Linked DNA regions of Homo sapiens: all the other regions are linked to region 1. The links are contacts of gene promoters, found by promoter capture Hi-C in human tissues and cell types (Jung and others, 2019). All regions are on one chromosome and are shown on one strand. The core of a region is centred on a gene start or on the middle of the fragment in contact, and the rest is flanking DNA. Distances in the headings are between cores, read along the strand shown. Region 1 holds the start of CPN1 (carboxypeptidase N subunit 1). Region 2 has its middle 34 kb from the start of CPN1. Region 3 has its middle 52 kb from the start of CPN1.

Region 1 (2,700 bases), core at 150-2,649:
AGTCTGGAAGGATATACATCAATACATTAACAGTGGTGGGATTTGGGGTGAGTTTTATTATTTTTTTTCCTTATCTAATCTCTAAATTTTAATCCAAACATGGATTGCTTTTACAGTAGAAACAAACTAAAAAAAGGAATCCAGGCTAAGTGCGGTGGCTCACGCCTGTAATCCCAACACTGGGAGGCCAAGGTGGGTGGATCGCCTGAGCCCAGGAGTTTGAGATTAGCCTGGTTAACATGATGAAACCCTGTCTCTACTAAAAATACAAAAATTAGCCGGGCGTATTGGTGCATGCCTGTGGTCCCAGCTACCTAGGAGGCTGAGGGGAAAGGATCACCTGAGCCCAGGAGGTGGAGGCTGCAGTGAGCTGAGATCATGCCACTGCATTCCAGCCTGGGCAACAGAGCCAGACCCCGTCTCAAAAAAATAAAAAATAAAAAAGAATCCAGTAAATAAAACTGACACCCAAGTCCCCAAACTCTCTCTGGAATACCACACTGTCACTCCCCGAAGAGATTCCCCTATACCCTTCTAAGTTTCCTGGCAGAACTAGAAGGGCTCATTGTTTTTGCCTATGTCTCCTGAGCCATTGGGTGGGGAAAGACAGAACAATAGTAAGGGGAAAAGAAAGGAAATGGGGGAAATGAAGGGATATGGGACATGAGCAGGGAAGAAGACTCATCTTTTACCATTAAAGTTTTGAGCAAACAGAACCCAAAAAGGAGGAAAGATCTGAAGGCTGAAGGAGGGTTATAGCTCCCCAGAGGCAGTGGCAGTTTGAGGGCTAAGAGGGAAATAGCACAGGCTGAGAAAGAGATAATACCTTGTAGGCGGAGGCGTCCACGGACCACCCCAGAAACCACTCCAATTACTGGATTTGCAAGGGAAAGGCCCTGCCCCACACACCCTCAAGAGCTGTTCAGAACTTACAGGGCTCGTGGATTCCAGGGTGGTCGCTGAACTCCAGCACGTAGAGGTGTCTCCCCTCCACGCTGCGCCCAATGCTGTAGACCCGCGTGATGCCGGGGCATTCGTTTTGCACCTTGTACAGCGTCCGCACAAGATCATCATAGCGGTGGTGGCGAAAGGTCACCGGGGCAACCAACTTGAAGAGAAGGAGGAGGTGGAGGAAGACTGAGAGCAGGTCTGACATCTTGCTGGGCTTTTTCAAAGAGAGCCACTGAAACGCGCCCCACCTCCTTAAACAACCTAGCCTCTTCACCCGCCAAAATCCAAGGTCCACCTAGCTTCCCGCTTGTAAACACCAGTCCAAATTGGAAGACGTTCCCAGCTGTCCGTCCAAGGCTGGAAATTCTTTATGTCGTTCTGGAATAGCCACTCATCTCTCCTCCCTCACTCCCTTTCTTTCTCTAATCCAGGAAAGCCTTTTGAAAGGTTTTTTGCACTTCCCCAGATGGGTAGTTTCACTGATTCTGGTTTACTGGTTAACTGGACTGTAAACAGGCTTCAATAAATAGCTGCTTATAACCCTTTGATTCCTGGAGAATTTTTTAAAACTTGGCCTGTGCCTGTTCCTTTTATTACAACTTTCAAAAAGAGTTCTCTGTCCCTTTTGATCCATCCCACGTACTGCTGCCTGCCTATCTTTCTGAAGCATGGCTGTATTTTGTCCTTTTTTTCCTCAAAAATCTTTCAACAGATGCCATTAAGAAAAGGAAAAGATTAGCCTCGGACTGGGAGAAAACAATTGTAAATCATGTATCCGATAATACCCCCATAATACGTAAAGAATCCTTACAATACAATAAGAAAACAAACAACCCAATTAAAACATGGGCAAAACATTTGACCAAAATAGATATACAAATGGCTAATAAGCACATTTAAAGATGTTCAGTGTCATTAGTCATTAAGGAAATACAAATTAAAACCACATGAGATCCAGTCATGGTGGCTCATGCCTATAATCTCAGCACTTTGGGAGGCCAAATTGGGAGGATCACTTGAGCCCAGGAGTTTGAGATCAGCCTGGGCAACATAGCAAGACCCCACCTCTACAAATATTTTTAAAATTAGCTGGGTGTGATGGCATGCCTGTAGTTCCAGCTACTAGGGAGGCTGAGGCAGAGAATCACTTGAACCTGGGTGGTGGGGCCTGAAGTGAGCCATGATCATGCCACTACACTCCAGCCTGGGCAACAGAGTGAGACCTCATCTCAAAAAACAAACAAACAAAAATCACACATGAAATATACTTTACCTCCACTAGAATGGCTACAATAAAAAAGACAGACAATAACAAATGTTGGTGAGAATAGGGAGAAACTGGAACCCTCATAAATAGTGCAGCCAGACCAGGTGCAGTGGCTCATGCCTGTAGCCCAGGACTTTGAGAGGCCGAGGCAGGTGGATCACGAGGTCAAGAGATCGAGATCATCCTGGCAAACATGGCAAAACCCCCTCTCTACTAAAAATACAAAAATTAGCTGGGCATGGTGGCACACGCCTGTAGTCCCAGCTACTCAGGAGTCTGAGGCAGGAGAATTGCTTGAACCTGAGAGGAGGAGGTTGCAGTGAGCTGAGATCACGCCACTGCACTCCAGCTTGGTGACAGAGCGAGACTCCATCTCAAAAAAAATAAAAAATAAAGATAAACAAATAAATAGTACAGCCAGTTTGGAAAACAGTTTAGCAGTTTCTTACAAGGTTAAATATATACTTACTATATAATACAAC
Region 2 (2,700 bases), core at 132-2,631, 34 kb after region 1:
AAGGAAGAAATGAGATTTAACTGGTGCTCAAAGCTTCTGATACAAAATATGTGGTCATGTATTCATAATTTGCTTGACATTTCCAGCAAAACAAAGATGGCAATAACAAAAGAAACTTCTTACAAGAGAAGAGAAAGACACTCGGAGCTCCGGAGTTTCTGCTGGAACAAGGCTCTTCCGTTTTGGTTATATACAGTCAAGTTCATTTAGTGCCTGATCCAGTGTCTGATATAAGCCCGCGCTCTCTTCTTTGGCCTGGGCAAATTTCTCTTCCAGGTCATCAGTTGTCTTTTCCAGTTTTGCAACCATTATCTCTACAAATTCAGCACGGATCTCAGCCTCCTTCAGTTGTCAGACAGAAGTTTAATTTTTTCTTCGTATTTGTCCTCCTTGTCAGAATACTTTCCAATGCAGCCTCCGGCGGTTTCAGATTGTTAGTGACATTCTTGAGTTCTTCTGCCAGGTCACCACATTTTAGTTCAGACACCTCTGCACGCTCCTCTGCTCTGGCCAGTTCGCCCTCTGTGATGGCCAGTTTCCGAGCTACCTCCTCTTATTTGCGGTCAGCCTCCGGCCGCAGTGTGCTTGGCCTCTTTGAGCTGCATCTCCCGAATCCATCTTCTCCTCATCCCTCATAGCCCGGTTTTCTATCACCTTCATTCTCTCTCACGCTCATCTGCAGCCTTTTCCCCCCTCCTCTAGCTTCTGCAGGGCCGTGACCAGTCGTTCCCGAGCCCCGTCCAACTCCTCCTTAAAGAGCTGGATGCACATGTACCCTAAAACTTAAAGTATAATAATAATAATAAAAAAAGAAAAAAAAAAAAAAAAAGAGCTGGATGCGTCAGTCGAGGACAGCCACATCGCCTTCAGCTTTCTCGCGCCGCTCGCTCGCGCCCCCCGCTCGCGCCCCCAGTCCAGCTGCCGCTGCAGGCCCTGCGCGCAGTCTTCGCCTTGTCCGCCTGCTGCGGCAGGGCCTGAATCTTGCGTTTCACCGCCTGCGGCGGGCGCCCCGGACCCGGCCGGGTTCGGACGACAGCTGCACGGCCGCGCCTCGGCCCCTGAACTTTTGCCTGCACCGGGGCCGCCCCGCACCCCCCGCCAACCCCCAGCCCCGGCCCGGCTGCCGTCGGGGCGATGAGGTCACCCGCCCTTGCACGATATCTGTTGATTTGGGGATTTGTTCCTACTGACTATAGGAGTCAATTTTCTTGGGTTTTTCAGGCACGATGATAGCAACTAAAGTTTTTGCTTCCATCTTTTAAATGTTTTATTTCTTGTTACTTTTTTCTGATTCCAGTTGAACTATACTGTAATGGTAAATAGCCTTGTTATTTATTTATTTATTTATTTATTTATTTATTTATTTATTTTATTTTATTTTTTTACGACACGGGGTTTCACTCTGTCGCCCAGGCTGGAGTGCAAGTGGTGCCATCTTGGCTCACTGCAACCTTCACCTCCTGGGCTCAAGCGATCCTCCTACCTCAGTCTCCTGAGTAGCTGGGACTATAGGCGCGGGCCACCAAGCCCGGCTAAATTTTTTTTTTTTTTTTTTTTTTTTGGGATTTTTAGTGGAGACAGGGTTTCGCCATGTTGGCCAGGCTGTCTAAAACTCCTGACCTTAGGTGATCCGCCTGCCACCGCCTCCCGAAGTGCTGGGATTACAGGTGTAAGCCAGCCTCATCTTATTCTCAATATTAATGAGAATGTTTCCAGTCTTTCACCAAAAAGCACAATTTGGGAGATGTGTTTTCATTGACTTAAGAGAAATTCATCTATTTCTATTTTACTAAGGGTTAGAAAAATCAAGAATGGATGTCAAATATTCTTAAAAGCATTTTCTGTACAAATGAGATTATCATGTAATGTCAAAATTGTATTTGTACAATTTTGCATAATCTGTATTTATGTAATTTTGTATAAATTGTATTTATACAAAATTGTATTTATATGGTCAGTTTTCTTAAGATGGATTTCCTGGTATTGCACCACTGCTATGTTCCTGATTCCTGTGTTAGTGGTGTAGTTTTTTCTTTTTTTTTTGAAACGGAGTCTTGCTCTGTCGCCCAGGATCTTGGCTCACAGCAACTGCCGCCTCCCGGGTTCAAGCGATTCTCCTGCCTCAGCCTTCCAACTAGCTGAGATTATAGGCATGTGCCACCATGTCCTGCTAATTTTTGTATTTTTAGTAGAGGAGGGGTTTCACCATGTTGGCCAGGCCGGTCTCGAATACCTGACCTTAGGTGATCCACCTGCCTCGGCTTCCCAAAGTGCTGGGATTACAGGCGTGAGCCACCGTGCCCAGCCAGTGGTATAGCATTTTTAATATGATGCCAGACCTATGCATCAATAGACTTTTGCATTGATATTTGTAAGTGAGACTGGCGGCTGTTTCTGTTTGCAGTATTTTGGTCAGGTTTGGCATCTTTTCTTCCTCCTCTATGCTTTGGAACTGTTTAAATGTAAAGCCCAAACCCTTAATCACTATGTAAGACTGACTACATCCCCAGTGTGCATGTAAACATTTTGGTAAATTCTATGTGCTTTACAAATGTTAACTGTCAGAGGCAGCAATATCCCAAATGTCGGAGTACAAGTGATCCTGAGAGGAGAGTATTAAGATTAAAGGAGGTGAGAGTTGCCTTGATTACCCTAGAGCTGCAGGTACCATTTCCATCTCTTGCCCCCTTTTTTAATGCA
Region 3 (2,701 bases), core at 125-2,624, 52 kb after region 1:
TTAAAGATGTCAGAAAGCAGGGCAGGCATGGTGGCTCATGCCTGTAATTCCTGCACTTTGGGAGGCCAAGGCAGCAGGATTGCTTGAGCTCTGGAGTTCAAGAGCAGCCTGGGCAACATAGTAAGACCCCATTTCTACAAAAATTACAAAAATTAGCCAGGTGTGGTGGCACTTGCCTTTAGTCCCAGCTACTCGGGAGGCTGAGGCAGGAGGATTGCTTGAGCCCAGGACTGTGAAACCAGCCTGGTCAATATAGCAAGACCCTGTCTCTTAAATAAATAAATAAATAAATAAATAAATAAATAAATAAATAACAAAAAAAAATTAAAGATCTCAGAAAGCTATTTAGTATTTTAGCAGTTATTCCATTTACTAAGGTATTACTTATTGAATTGTTTCCCCCCCAAAAAAATGTTGGCGCCCTAACCCCCAATATCTGTGAATGTGAACTTATTTGGAAACAGGATCTTTACAGAGGTCAGGTTGAAATGAGGTCACAGGTGGGCCCTAAGCCAATATGACCGTCCTTATAAAAAGGGGACATTTGGGCACAGAGACAGACATGCACACGGGGAGAATGTCACATTAACATGAAGGCAGAGCTCAGGGTGATGCACCTACAAGCCAAGGAACTCCAAAAATTGCCAGAAAGCCACCAGCAGCTAAGGCAGAGGTACGGAACAGATTCTCCCTCACAGGTCTCAGAAGGAACCAACCCTGCCGACACCTTGATCTCAGACTTCCAGCCTCCCAAGCTGTGAGACAATTAAGTTCTGTTGTTCTCAGCCACCAAATTTTTGGTACTTTGTTATGGCAGCCCTAGGGAACTAATAGAGAAGGAAAACTAAAATATCAATGAATGGCTCTTTTCTCTGTTATTTTCTAAAATAGAAAGGTTAGTGGAAGGAAGAGCTGAATTATCTGTTCCCATTACAGGCTAGTAAGGAGTGGTAACAAGAATTTTAAGGAAAGTTTGGAAACCAATTTTTTCAGAGTTACCCAAACTGCGAGTTTTAGACCAACAATTTTCCCCCTTTTCAGAGCAATCTAGCCCAGTGGCCTCCATCTCCAGTTTTAAAATTAATGTAAAAGGTCATGCATACCCAATATAATCAACTTGTTTTTCAAAAAGGGAGGTTGTAGAAGGAGAGCTTGGTTACTTCTTTTTTTATTTTTCTTTTTTCATAAACTCAGTGGTAAGAATTGGGTGCTTCTTTAGTAAACAAATGTACCTTGATCTTAGGTGAGAGAGACCAAAACTCACTTCTCTTGTAGCACTAAATACACTGCATTGTATTTAACTAATGATTCATAAATATGCTTTGAAAGGATTTAGTTTCTACTTTTCCAGGACTTGCAATTTTATAATTTTAAGTGGTTTAGAGGAGACTTTCAGACTGTCCTAAATTTTTTGTATTGCGTGTTACTTGATACATATAAAGGAATATATGTAACACATCTAAATTTTGAAGCATAATAACAAAAGGAATTATTTGTGAGCCTATTATCCAACTGAAGAACTAAAACATGGCTGGTACCATTGTAGCTCCCTGTGCGTGACACCCCTGATTTGACCCTTCCTCCTCTCCATCCCCCTGGTGCCCAGGCTGTCATTGAAAGCACAGTGATTTTTATGTCTAGTCATTGTCTGCTGTTGTGGCCACAGCAGTGGCCACAGTGCCACTGCATCCTGTGTGTCATGGGAAACTACACCCCAAGCATGACTGCTCCAGCTCCCTCAACCCTGAGACCTCTGGGTAACAACTCTTTATTTCAAAGGTTCTCAGATTGTTTTTATCTCAATTAGATTCACAGCATGAACCTGCAGGACACTTGGGGTCTGTTTCTGATGTTCATCTCAGTGGAGCTACCAGAGCATCTGTTGTCATATAATTAAACAAACAAACAAACAAACAAACAATTATATATGTTTTGTTCATAGTTTGTGGGAGCTTCTAAACCATTGGAATTTCCTGAGTGTTAGAAGTGCCATTGGTAGCCCGGGCGCAGTGGCTCACACCTGTAATCCAAGCACTGTGAGAGGCCAAGGCAGGTGGATCACTTCAGGCCCGGAGTTTGAGACCAGCCTGGCCAACATGGTGAAACCCTGTCTCTACTAAAAATACAAAATTTGCTGGGCATGGTGGCAGATGCCTGTAATCCCAGCTACTTGGGAGGCTGAGGCAGGAGAATCACTTGAACCTGGGAGGTGGAGGTTGCAGTGAGCGAGACTCCATCTCAAAAAAAAAAAAGTGTCTTTGGAACATAGCGGATCCCTGGGATCACACCTGAGTATGTGCCAATGAGATGATTCAGGTGGGCTCTAGGATAGTTTTAAGATGGGGGCCAGCCATGCCAGAAAGACCAGCCATATGTTTAGAGGGTTGGGGCTTTGAGCCAAGTGATATCAGCCTGAACTCTCAACCTCCATGGAGGAGAGGAGGCTGGAGACTGAGTTCATGAGTTCAATGACACGGCCAATGATTCGATCAATCATGCCCATGTAATGAGACCCTACTAAAAACTCTGGACACTGAGGCTCAGGTGAGCTTCCTGGCTACTGAACACATTGGTGTGCCAGGGGGGTAACACATTATGTTTGAGAGCCTCCCAGACCTCACCTTATGGGATTCTCTATTTGTATCCTTTATAGAATAAAACTGTAAGTATAGCAACTTCCTGAGTTCTGTGAGTTGTTCTA

What was found. Contacts are between HindIII fragments. The study calls those that stand out against the background at their distance.
Region 2: a contact is called between a fragment that was not itself captured here and the fragment with the promoter of CPN1 in region 1, in 1 of the 25 tissues and cell types used here (stomach).
Region 3: a fragment that was not itself captured here is called in contact with the fragment with the promoter of CPN1 in region 1 in 2 of the 25 tissues and cell types used here (IMR-90 fibroblasts and mesenchymal stem cells).

Annotation. Positions count from the first base shown.
Region 1 is chr10:100,080,470-100,083,169 of GRCh38, forward strand. CPN1 (carboxypeptidase N subunit 1) reads right to left here and starts at 1,400. Exons shown (of 9, transcript NM_001308.3): 1 at 934-1,400. The coding sequence starts at 1,156. The HindIII fragment of the contact is 9,232 bases long and covers 1-2,700 here.
Region 2 is chr10:100,114,226-100,116,925 of GRCh38, forward strand. It overlaps the pseudogene CYP2C23P and the pseudogene TPM4P1. Among named protein-coding and RNA genes, the nearest start is that of CPN1, 34 kb to the left of the region's middle. The HindIII fragment of the contact is 7,748 bases long and covers 1-2,700 here.
Region 3 is chr10:100,132,332-100,135,032 of GRCh38, forward strand. It overlaps the pseudogene CYP2C23P. Among named protein-coding and RNA genes, the nearest start is that of CPN1, 52 kb to the left of the region's middle. The HindIII fragment of the contact is 4,461 bases long and covers 1-2,701 here.